Linked DNA regions of Homo sapiens: region 2 is linked to region 1. The links are contacts of gene promoters, found by promoter capture Hi-C in blood cells and fetal thymus (Javierre and others, 2016). All regions are on one chromosome and are shown on one strand. Each heading gives the region's core, a stretch centred on a gene start or on the middle of the fragment in contact. The rest is flanking DNA. Distances are from core to core; before and after follow the strand shown. Region 1 holds the start of LINC00677 (long intergenic non-protein coding RNA 677). Region 2 has its middle 63 kb from the start of EIF5.

Region 1 (6,193 bases), core at 1,606-4,105:
GTGCTTAGTGAAGGGGCTCCTAGCTTCACCACTGGCTGGCACATGACTGGACCGCTCTGTGCCTCAGTTTCCTCATCTGTGAAAAGAAGAGAGTTAGTGCCCACTTCATTAGGCTGTCCGATGAAATCGGCTAATGTATACAAAACACTTAGAACAACGCCTGGCACCGGTGGAGATCAACAAACATCAGCAGTCTACCCAAAAGAATTGAAAGCAGGAACGTGAACAGATATTTGCATACCCGTGTTCTTTTGTTTGTTTGTTTTTGTTGTGAGACAGGGTCTTACTCTGTTGCCCAGGCTGGAGTGCAGTGGTGCAATCATGGCTCACTGCAGCCTTAACCTGCCAGGCTCAGGTGGTTCTCCCACCTCAGCCTCCCAAGTAGCTGGGGCTACAGGTGCACCCCATCACACCTGGCTAATTGTTTGTATTTTTGGTGGAGACAGGGTCTCACTATGTTGCCCAGGTTGATCTTGAGTTCCAGAGCTCAAGCGATCCACCCGCCTGGGCCTCCCAAAGTGCTGGGATTACAGGCATGAGCCACCACACCTGGTATACACACCCATGTTTTATAGCAGCACTGTACACAGCAGCCAAGAGGTAGCAGCAATCCCAGTGTGCACAGAGAGATGAATGAATGCACAGTGTAGCCCATCCATACAATGGAATATGATTCAGCCTCAAAAAGGAAGGGAATTCTGATACCTGCTACCACATGAATGAATCTTGAAGGCATTATGCTGAGTGAAATAAACCTGACAACGCCCTCCTGGCAGATGCAGACACAAAAGGATAAACGCTGTGTGACTCTATTTATTTGCAGTACATAGAATAGTCAAGACCACAGAGACGAAAGGTAGAATGGCGGTTGCCAGGGCCCGGAGGAGAGGGAAAGAGGAGTTAGTGCATAGTGGGTAGAGTTTCCGTTTTGCCAGGTGACGATTTCTGCAGGTGGAGGGTGCTGTTGGTTGCACGACCCTGTGAATATACTTAATGCCACTGAACTGTGCACTTAAAAGATTATAAATTGCATTATGTATATTGTACCATAATAATTTTTAAACAGTCAGCTGTCATTGCTCTGGCAGACAGAAGGGAGGGAACATCCCATGTGTCGTAGCCTCTGAGGCCCTGGGTTGCGTGCGAGGAGCTGACCGTGGCTCCTGGCCAGGTGCTGGCACACTCGCCTTCTAGGCTAAATGGAGAGGTCATTGCCAGTCTGCTCCTGTCTGCTGCCCTCCCCACCAGGCAGAGCCCCCTGCTCACTGCCCCTGGCCTGTGCCCTGGGGAGCTGGGGAATGGGACAGCCGCTGGCCACTGGTCACAAACATCGCCACCCAGCATGTGATGCTGGCTTCCTGCTGGGGAGGAGCCGTAGGCTGGCCTTTGGCTCCTCTGGAAGTGCCTGGCCTCTTGGGAACTGCTTTCTGCATCTGCGAGAAGAGGGTAAGGACTGCTCCTGCCCTATGGGCCCCATTGGCTGTCATCCCTTGGGCCTCCATGCTGCCCCATTTTCAGAAGACTTTCCTTGTCTTGAGGACTTCACGTATGTTACCATTGACCCTCATGCCTGAGCTTAGAGAGGGGAAGTGACTGGTGCAGACACAAGTCCAAGGCAGCAGCCTCGTTTCCCAATCCCCAGCCGGTGCTCTGGGCGGGCCACTGCCGTCAGTGGGGGACAAGGGTGGCAGCCCCGCCTCAGCCCTGCAAAGCCCGTGGAGACCAGGGGCTGCCTTCGAGGGGACAGTGGGGCCTAAGGCCTGACAACGCCCTCCTGGCAGATGCAGACTTCCCGAGCAATTTCCCGATCTGCTTGGGAATGGGAGGGGGGGTGAGGGGGTGGGGTGGGGGAACAGAGTCTGGCAGGAGAGGCTTGTGGGGATTGCACAATGAGGCCACAGCAGCCAGCCGTGAAGGCAGCCACCGGCCAGGGCCCCTCAGCCCGTATCCTCATCGCCCCTGTGTGGATGAACTCCATCTGCGCGGTGCCGGTGGAAGGACCCTCCCAGCCCCGGGACACCGCGGCTCTGTGGACTCATCTGAAAAATGTCATCCCTGGAGTCCTAGGAGAGAAGGGGTGGGGTTGGCAGCCTTAACGCCCCATCCTGCATCCTGGCGGCCTCCCGCATCCGCTCCCCCACAGGTTCCCCAGAGACAGGATGATGGATGGCAATCCGAGTGCAAACCTGGCGCTTGGCCAGCACTCTGGAAGAGGAAGTTCTCAGTTCCCAGGGCACCTGAACCCACAGCCGCCCCCACTCCGCTGGCCCCCCTGGTCCTGGAAGACCTGTTACTAGGCTGCAGAAGGGGTGGCGGAGTGATCAGGGGGCGGGGAAAGAGGCCAAACAAAAGAGGGGAGGAGCAGAGGCCCCAGTGAGGCAGGAGGGAAGCCCCTGCCCAGCGGGAAATTCCTAAATGTCTGGGTCCTTTCCAGAGGGCAGGAATTCCTAGCCTAGAGTGTGAAATAAGGAAGGAAGTGAATCTCCAGTGGGTTCCCTTCACAGCCCCTTTCCATCCTCCCCACATGCCCCACCCCCACATCTCCCAAAACAAACCCTGAGAGACGGTGTGGATGGGGAGACAGGCCTGGAAACGGAGGCCTGCGCTGAATGGGCAAAGCCGGGTTGATGATCCAGACGAGGCCCTGGAGTCTGGGCCTTGGGCCCCTCCCCTTCTGCCTGCTCCGGCAGCCTGTGGGTCCAGCCCCAGCCCCAGAGGGGGAAAGGCTCCAGTGGGAGTCCCATAGGCCTGGCTAGGAACCCCACTCCGCTACTTAAAGTGGTGTGAGCCGGGTCAGCCACTTCACCTTTCCGCATTTACGCATTTCAAGCAAGGCTTGACGACCGGAGGGGCTCAAGGCCCTGTGCACAGCCGCGCGGCCAGCACTCTGGCCAGCCTTGTAGCCCCCTTCCCCTTAGGGGGCCTCCTTCAGGAAGCCCCCGTCCCCTGCCTCCTTGTGGCCACGGTGACACCGGAACACTTCAGAGGGGCGGCTGGGGAGTTGGGGTGGGACGGGCTCTCCCGCAGCTGGAGCCGGTGTGTGACGCGGGAACGCGGCCAAGCGCGCCCCATCCAGGCGGCCTATCAGGAGCCGTCGTCGGACAATGGCTCCGCGCCTGACAACCCCGTCGTCCCCGTGCCGTCCCCCGAACTCCACATACCATGCGACGCGCGGCCAGCCCCCCGCCCCTGCCCGGCTGCTGGGAGGAAGTGACAGCGCCCCGCATCCCCCGCTGGGCAGGCCGGGCGCGCCCAGCCCCTGGGACGCAGGGACACAGCCGGGCCGCGCTGGGCCTTGGCCTCCGCCCGCGGGTTTTCCGCGGTTGCGGCGGGGCGGGGAAGGAGGGGCGGGCGGGGCGGGGCTGACTCTGCGACTATTTCAGGCCTTGCGGAACCCGGGCCAGGACAGTGGCGGCCAGGCCGGGACACGGTAAGTGACCTCCGCTTCCACACGTCCATTCCCCGCCGCTCCGCGCGGCTTCTCGCCCGCCCCTACCCCGAGGCCAGGCCGGATTCCCCGAGGAAAGAGCCTGTCGCCGCGGCGGGGACAGGAGGGGGCTGGACGCTTCCAGGGAAACTGAGGCCCTGGCGCGCCCAGCGTCCGCGCGTCCGGGCGCAGAGGGGCCAAGGCTGGCTGAGGGCCCGGGCCTGCCAGAGGCAGGGAGGGCGGGGCTGGGGCAGGCGCAGGGGTCTCCCCTCCATTACAGCAGAAAGGCCCCAGGTCCGGCGTGACTCCCCGGCCGGGCGACACAGGCCGAGTCACTTCCTCGCCCGTGCCCGGGTGTCCTCATCGGGGGATGGGTGCGCCTTCCACATCCTGCCCAGGACTGAAGGAGCCGGGCCCAGCGAGCTCCCGGGAGGTGTGTGGACATCAGCCCTGACGGGGAAGGCGAGCCAGGTCAGTGGACCTGAGGAGAGGCCGGGCAGCAGGAGGCTGGGGGGCGCTGTTGAGCCACTGGCTGTGACCCCTCTACGAGCCTCCCAGCAGGCCCCTTCCTGCCTCAGTGGGCCCAACCAGCGGCAAGGCTCAAAGGAACGCCCCTCCTCCCCTTCTTCCTTTCTGGCTGCACCGGCTCGCTGCTGCCTGCAGGACAGACTCAGGACACAGGAGACTCACCCCCACTGAGGCCCAGCTAGGCGCCCAGCACTTGGCTGTGCGGTTTGGCCACATCCCCTCAGCAGCACTGTGGGGTGGGGGTCCTCATCCCCTTTTCAAAGACGGGGAAACGGCGGCTTGTGAAGGAAGGAGGTGTGCAGTCCACACACTAGTGAGAAGTGTGCTGAGCCCACACCGAAAGCGTTTCTCTTTCCATGGCACCAGCTGCCTCGGAGAGCGGAGACCTGGGGCGAGGCCCAGGGGGCTGCAGCAGGACCTTCAGGCGCTCTGGGTTTCGTGTCACAGAGGGGAGAAGGCGGTGATGCTGTGGGGGTCCTGCGGGAGCTGTGCCTGGAGGTGGGACAGAGCCTAGTACATGTGGGGTGGGACAGGGAAGGCTGAGGTGAGGCTGGCAGGGAGCATTGCTGGTAAGGGCCACCCTCCCCCACCCCAGGAGAATGGCAGAGGTGGGGCCTGGGCACCCAGGGTGGGGCTGAGTGGCCCTGCCAGACAGACCAGCTCCCGCGGGTGCTAGGCATGCACCTGAGAGGGGCTGGGAAGCGAAGTTGGGGCACCGGGTGGGGAGCAGAGGTGCCCCATGGCCTTGCCCCTGGGGCTCCCTGGAGCATGCCCCTCTTGGTCCTGGAGTGGAATGCTCAACCCAAATGGCACTAGGGAGGCCAGTGCCATCCAGGAGTGTGGGACTCTGCCCAGGGCACTGGGTGAGCATGGCAGGGGCTGGGGGTGGGAGGAGCCCAGGCTTCCTGTCCCTCAGGTGGCTCTGGCCAAGCCCCTCCAGGATGGGGACAGGGTAGTGGGGCTGGTGGAGGCAGCGGGGCCATGGGAAGAGTCGGATGGGCCCAGTCTGAGCCTCCATGGCTGCTGTGCTTGGGGCAAACACCTCCTACTCAGCCTCAGTTTCTCCTTCTGGATGGTGGATCATCCTGCCTGCCTTGCAGGGCTGTTTCAGGGGTCACTTGAAGTTACCATGATACATGAGACAAGGCTGCATGCATTTAGTCTTGGGGTGGGGCAGACAGGTGGCATCAAGGTTACAGGTCACCCCAGTTCTTGGGGAGGCCCAGCCCCTGCCTGCTTCCCCCTTTCAGATCAGCCATGCTCTTCTCCAGTGGACCTGGCCTTGCTCTGACAATGGTCAGGTGCTGGGCAGGGACTCTGGGGAAGCTCGGGTCTTGCCTCTCTGGATGTAGCTTGCAGGATAGCTGGGGATGTGGAGGCAGGGGAAAGCTGGGCTCTGGGACCGGGTGGCCTGAGTTCCAAGCCCAAGCTATTGACTATAGGGACAGTTTAAGCCGAAATAACACCCTTCCAGATGAGAGAAAGGAAGAGATGGGATGGGCACCCAGGAAGGCTGCAGAAACTGGAAGCCTTTGTGATGATGCTACGATCCCATTTGGGAGGGGGTGGGAGCCAGGAAGCCTGGGTTCTGGACCCGAGTTGCTGTGTGACTTCAGGCCGCCCTGTGACTTGCTGAGCCCCTTGCCCCAGTGATGTGTGAAAGGCTGTCTGAGGTCCCACCCACTGTGGCTTCTGTAGATCCTGGTCAGGCTCTGCCCCTTTCATGGCCCAGCTGGAGCAGCTGTGTTTCTGTGACCCCACCGCTGGATCAGAACTGGACAAGATGGCAGAGGGGCTGGGTCTGGGCAGGAGGAGGCTGGGTTCCAGTCTCAGGCCGGTTCTGGTGTTCTAGACCCCGGCATGTCCCAGACCTTTCTGGACCTCTGTTCCTGCTCTGTCCAAAGGGACAGAGCCCATGCCCCGCCTCTTCCCTAGGGTCCCGTGGGATCCAGGGAGGTGTCCATTGCCTGCTTCCTGCCCAGAGGGTGGGCTGGCAGGGAAGGATTTGCCCAAGTAAAGTGAAAGTCCCCCTCTGTGTGGCGGGCTTGGCGTCCCCAGCCTCTTCCTTGCTTCTGGGGCTGTGAAGTATTGGAAGGGGAGCTGTAGATGGTGAGATGCTCGTGGCCAGGGAGGAAGCACAGTTGTTGGTGCTCATCTGGGCCAGGAGATGAGCAGAGCCCCGGTGGCTGAATGGGTGAAACAGACTGAGTGTACTCAATGCAGCCAGCATAGCTGTGT
Region 2 (6,193 bases), core at 1,757-4,256, 150 kb after region 1:
CTCCAAAATAATCTCCTTCAACCCTGTGTCTCGTATCCAGGCCACATTGGCTCAAGGGGTGGGCTCTGCCCTGTGGCTCTGCAGGATGCAGCCCCCACAGCTGTGGTGGCAATGGGGAGCCAGGTGTGCTGATTTGCAGGCCCCTGGGTGGCATATGCAGGTGCTAATGGTGGTGAGTCCAGATAGGCCAGTCCTTGGGCCTCCAGCTTGCTCAGGCGCCACCAGTAGGCAGGGCAGGTGGGCTCCTGGGCAGTGTGTGTGGCAACAATGGTGGCAGAAGTGATGGTGGGCCAACCCTGGAGCCATCAGGCAGCATGTAGCAGTTGGGTGCTTTTCCATCCATCCCAATCACGGAAAATTCCCGATTCCTGTAGAATTAAAGGAGAATTACGAAGAGAATATCAAGATATGCAATGACAGAGCCTTCTGGGTGTAGCTGCTTCCAGCTACGGGGTTTACGCAATAGAGATATGACCAACAACAATTAGCATCACTTCAGAAAAAGTACTAAAGAGACCACAGAAAGCTTTGTGGAGGCGCTGGCTCACACCTGTAATCCCAGCACTTCGGGAGGCCGAGGCAGATGGATAGCTTGAACCCAGGAGTTCAAGACCAGCCTGGGCAACATGGCAGCAACATCCCCTCTCTACAAAAAAATTTAAAAATTAGGGCCAGGAGCGGTGGCTCACCCCTGTAATCCCAGCACTTCGGGAGGCCACGGCGGGTGGATCCCGAGGTCAGGAGATCAAGGCCATCTTGGCCATCATGGTGAAACCCCATCTCTACTAAAAATAGAAAAAATTAGCTGGGCATGTGCTTGTAGTCCCAGCTAATCGGGAGGCTGAGGCAGGAGAATTGCTTGAACCCGGGAGGTGGAGGTTGCAGTGAGCCGAGATCGTGCCACTGCACGCCAGCCTGGCGACAGAGCAAGAATCTGTCTCAAGAAAGAAAAAAAAAATTAGCCGAGTGTGGTGGCACATGCCTGTAGTCCCTACTACTTGGGAGGCTGAGGTGGAGGATCACCTGAGCCCGAGAGATTGAGACTGCAGTGAGCCGAGTTTGCACCACTGCACTCCAGCCTGGGTGACAAAATGAGACCCTGTCTCAAACAATGAATAAATAAAAGCTTTGCAGCCCAACTAAAGTCTCCAGATTCCTTACTTTAAATGGTTTTAGCAAAATGCTTAGGTTTTATATAGCTAATTGCTTAGGTTTTATATAGCTAATTGCTACAAATGTAACTAAAACCAAGATTGCAGTAGCTCAATGTATAGAACTTACAGATAAGCCAATTTTGTAACCTTGCATTTTGGCTTTGGTTTTTGGCTCTTACATTGCTTAAAGTTTTTCAGGTTAATGAATGTCTGGCTGCCTCCATTCCCATCTGGCCTAAAATGTTTAATTGACTGCAAGTCTTTTGGCTGTAAGACCCTTGGCCATGGGGTTCCGCCGAGGGCCTGGATGGACCTGGGGCAGGGAGCCACACCACCCTGGCAACGATATGGGACAAAATTAAAGTTTAGCCACTGATGCTGCCTCTGGAAAATCTTGACCAAAGTGAGGAAAAGAGACATAAAAATTATATCCTAAGCCCCCAACCAACTGAACTGAGCCCTTCTTGGCCAAGGGGACCCCAGAGATACCTTGAAAACTGAGTTCCAGGCCATGATGGGAACGCAGGTCAGACACGGGAGGGCAGGTCAGACACGCTCCCCTTTCCCTCTCCAGCTGCCCTTAGGCTTTCTCCCCTGCGGACTGCGGTCCACAGACCCCACCCCGACATCAACCAGACTCTGACGCTGCCGCTTCCTTTTGCATTTTCAATACAACCTTACCAACCAGCATCCCCTCCTGATAAGAGACCACCGACCTCAGAGTGGTTCTGGCCAGTCTACGGAGGATGCACAGTGAGGGTTTTCTCTGCTTCCCCTTTTGACATCAGAGGCCCAAAAACTCCACCCTTGGACCATGTGAAGGCTACCATTTTTTGAACGTGGGTCCCATGGAGAGGCATGAAGCTCAACTGTGTATGTTCATATTTCTCCTCTCATAAATATTCATGGATCCTCCTAAAGCTTATTGAATATGTATATTTGGCCACCCTGGTCAATATAAATCCCTGTGTTACCATTCCTACCCTCCAAATATCTGTTTCTAGCTTCCAGCCAGAGGCTATGCTTCCCAGCCTGTCAGAACGGCCACCTTCAGGCTGCAACCCTTTAGGAGGAATAAAGCTATCCTTTCCAAACTAGAAAAAAAAATTACTTGTGGGAGTACTTTGGGTTTTGGGGGGTTGTTTTGAGACAGAGTCTCGCTCTGTCACCCAGGCTGGAGTACAGTGGCGTGATCTCGGCTCACTGCAACCTCCGCCTCCCGGGTTCAAGTGATTCTCCAGCCTCAACCTCCCAAGTAGCGGGGATTACAGGCACATGCCACCACCCCTGGCTAATTTTTGTATTTTTAGTAGAGACGGGGTTTCACCATGTCAGCCAGGCTGGTCTCAAACTCCAGACCTCGTGATCCGCCTGCCTCAGCCTCCCAAAGTGCTGGGATTACAGGTGTGAGTCACCGCGCCTGGCCCAGCAATTCAATATTTTTAAGATTTTTAAAAATATGTATTTTATCCAGTTAGTTGTTCTCATTGGGAAATAGTTTAGCCCAGAGTTACTGGAGACAAGAGTTTTACTCCATGCCTGTCCCCCACCTGATTGCCTAGCTGGAAATAGAGGTCTTTGTTTTTATGAGCTGCCTGAAATCCTAAACAGAAGGAAGTGCCACTCAAAGCTTCCTTTTATAACCAATCCATATCCCAAACTGGCATATTTGGGGGTGGCATTTCCTGAACTTCAGTGTTAAGGATTTCTGCCACAGATGAAGGGGGTGTTCTGCCTGGGGGGTGTCAGGTCGCAGGGCCTGAACACCCTCTTCCCAGCCACCATCTGGGGAGACAGTTCTGCTTTCCAGGTGTTACTGAAAGTACTGAAATTCTTGTGGGGAAACTGAAGAACTGCCTGAGGCCTAAAAGACATACAGCCAGTCCCCGAAAGGAGTGTTGAGGACTGAAGTCTTGCCGGGTCTCAGCGCAGTGAAAGGTTTTTTGGTGTTTGTTTCTTTGTTCATTTTGAGGGGACCTTTTATTCTACCACAATATCACACACAATATAAACTGAATACCAGGGTCCTCCACAAGCCACTGCGCGGGCTAGCATTTTCCCTCGACAAAGCTAGGAAGCTTATACAGATAAAAGTTAGTTTTGAGTTTTCACATTTGATTTTGAAAAATGTTCAAATGCCTAAGGCAGAACTAAAGTCTCAGCTCTGCGAGTCCATGGGCTGTAGAGAATAATAATGCCTGGAATTCACATACAGACACACACACACACACACACACACACACTCCCACACACACCCCCCCACACCCCCCCCACACACACAACCCCCCCCACACACACACACTTCCCACACACACCAAAGCCAAACACCAGCAACCTTCCCAAGGTTTTGTTTGTTTGTTTTTGAGACGGAGTTTCACTCCTGTTGCCCAGGCTGGAGTGCAATGGCGCGATCTCGGCTCACAACAACCTCCGCCTCCTGGGTTCAAGTGATTCTCTTGCCTCAGCCTCCCAAGTAGCTGCGATTACAGGCATGTGCCACCATGCCCGGCTAATTTTGTATTTTTAGTAGAGACAGGGTTTCTCCATGTTGGCCAGGCTGGTCTTGAACTCCCGAACTCAGGTGATCCGTCCACCTCAGCCTCCCAAAGTGCTGGGATTACAGGCCTGAGCTACCACACCCAGCCAATTCCCAAGGTTTTACAAACACAGCTAGAAAGGCAAACAAAAAGAGCATCTTTTCTTTACATAATTTCATTCTGTTTAACATTTGCATTATTGTCAAAATATTCAGGTGTTCAGGGAAAAAATGTTGCTTCAATAAACTACAGGGGAAATAATGCTGTTAGTTGTAGAAGCTGATTTTGCTCCATTCTGACAAAAAAAAAAAACAACACCTTTTGAAAGTACAGGGACATTTCAGCAAGTAGGTCAGGCATTTTATATATGTAAATGAAAAAAAAAACAAATCCACCCAGAAAGCTGCAATTCTAGGTTGTAAATGAATCTAAAACGTGTGAAAAACTGTTCAGTTCAGTGCCCTGAAATCTATTTCAAACATAACTGTAACTCTTACAACATTAAGGCTTAGGTCACTGCCAGGCACAGTGGCTCACGCCTGTAATCCCAGCACTTTGGGAGGCCAAGGCAGGAGGATCACCTGAGGTCAGGAGTTCAAGACCAGCCTGGCCAGTATGGTGAAACCCCGTCTTTACTAAAAATACAAAAATTAGCCGGGCGTGGTGCCGCGTGCCTGTAGTCCCAGCTACTTGGGAGGCTGAGGCAGGATAATTGCTTGAACCCGGGAGGGGAGGCAGAGGTTGCAAGGAGCCCAGATCGCACCACTGCACTCCAGCTTGGGCGACAGAACTAGACTCTGTCTCAAAAAAAAAAAAAAAGTATAAGGGTCACATCATACACAAAAGAGAACACCCATCTCTACAGGAGTGCCGGCTCCAGAGTCTTCGGGGTCTCAGAGAAGACCCAGAAACAAGGTCTCCACGAATTAAAGCACCATCAGGAGAGAAAGACCATCCGGATATAGTCAATCAGTGCGAGGCAGCCACATACACAAGTAACCCTTGTTTAAGCGTCAGTGTACGCATTTTCGGTTACATCTTATACGGCACTATGTACGTGAGTAACGCTTAGCTTCAGTTTAAAAAATACAAGGACGGACACTGATTAAGAAAAGCAATTTTTGGCCGGGCGCGGTGGCTCACGCCTGTAATCCCAGCACTTTGGGAGGCCGAGGCAGGCAGATCACAAGGTCAGGAGATCGAGACCATCCTGGCTAACATGGTGAAACCCCGTCTCTACTAAAAATACAAAAACAAAATAGCCAGGTGTGGTGGCGGGCGCCTGTAGTCCCAGCTACTCGCGAGGCTGAGGCGGGAGAATGGCGTGAACCCGGGAGGCGGAGCTTGCAGTGAGCTGAGATCGCGCCACTGCACTCCAGCCCGGGCGACAGAGCGAGACTCTGTCTCAAAAAAAAAAAAAAAAAAAAAAAAAAAAAAAAAAAAAAAAAAAAAAAAAGGAAAGAAGGAAAGGAAAGGCAAGGAAAAGGCAAGGAAAAGGCAAGGCGGCGCAAGGCGGGGCAAGGCGAGGCAAGGCAAGGCAAGTGGGGCCTGTCCTCCACCTGGGCTCCAGCGGTGACACAGGACGTCCCGCCGCTTCCAGCTTCCGCGTACCTGCGCGCACACCGGGTCCCCCGCGGCCTCGCCCTCGTCCATGACCTCCAGAGCCCCGCGCCGCGCCCCCGCCCGATCCGCGGAGGCCTCCAAGCAGCCGATGCCCTCGCCAAGCCTGGGTGGTCCAGAAGGACGCGCCCGCTCCGGGGCGCAGAGCTCTTGAGGTCGTGGGCGGGCGCAGGGCCCCGGCGGATACTTGGCAGAGGCTTGGGGTCGTGGCGGGGGCGCCTCCCTTCCGGTGCGCGAAAAAGCAAACGCGACGCGCGGGCTGCAGAGACTGGGCCGGGCGGAGGAGACCCCCAGCCTGGGTTGAGCGGGGCGGATCTGGGACTCCGAGGCTTCCTACGTGGGGCGGGTTCCCAGCGGACGCCTCTGCCGCACCCCTGGCGGGGACCCAGCTGCGCCCCTTCCCGCGGCCCTCCTAGGGCCTGGGTGCTTGGAGGCTCGAGGCCCCAAGATCCATGTCGCCCGGAATCCCGGTGCCTAGGCCTTGTCGCGGGCCCTGGGACCAACTCGCGGGGGTCAGGAGCTGGGGGTTGAGAGAAAGATGATCAGGTGGGTTGGAGAAAGGAGACGCTTCCCGCTGGGCGAGTGAGCCCAGGACGCGGCAGAAGAGGGCAGACCCTAGGGGACCGCCGCGTCCCCAGGCGCGCACGCGACCCCTCCCCGCGCCGAAAATCCTCTCCCCGCCTCAGTCTCCCCGCCTCCGCCTCCCCACCCATAGTGTCACTCCGACCCTAGCCCTGGGTCCAAACGGGCAGGAGAGGTCGCTGGTGCCTCCGCGGTCCCCGCCGCGCGCAGAACTCGGCCGAGTGCACCGGGGTCTCCTGGCCTCTGCGCGCAGCTGGTCCTGCAGCGTCAGGACCCGAACGACCCCGAGGCCCCAGGGGC

What was found. Contacts are between HindIII fragments. The CHiCAGO score rates a contact against its expected background, and 5 or more counts as called.
Region 2: a fragment that was not itself captured here is called in contact with the fragment with the promoter of LINC00677 in region 1 in 1 of 17 cell types (M1 macrophages); the score reaches 5.8 in M1 macrophages.

Annotation. Positions count from the first base shown.
Region 1 is chr14:103,120,054-103,126,246 of GRCh38, forward strand. LINC00677 (long intergenic non-protein coding RNA 677) reads right to left here and starts at 2,856. Exons shown (of 2, transcript NR_138038.1): 1 at 2,556-2,856; 2 at 796-978. TNFAIP2 (TNF alpha induced protein 2) reads left to right here and starts at 3,408. Exons shown (of 12, transcript NM_006291.4): 1 at 3,408-3,898. RefSeq lists enhancers at 2,339-2,871, 2,872-3,405 and silencers at 3,070-3,349, 3,650-3,699. The HindIII fragment of the contact is 18,340 bases long and covers 1-6,193 here.
Region 2 is chr14:103,267,981-103,274,173 of GRCh38, forward strand. No RefSeq gene overlaps it. Among named protein-coding and RNA genes, the nearest start is that of EIF5, 63 kb to the right of the region's middle. The HindIII fragment of the contact is 448 bases long and covers 2,783-3,230 here.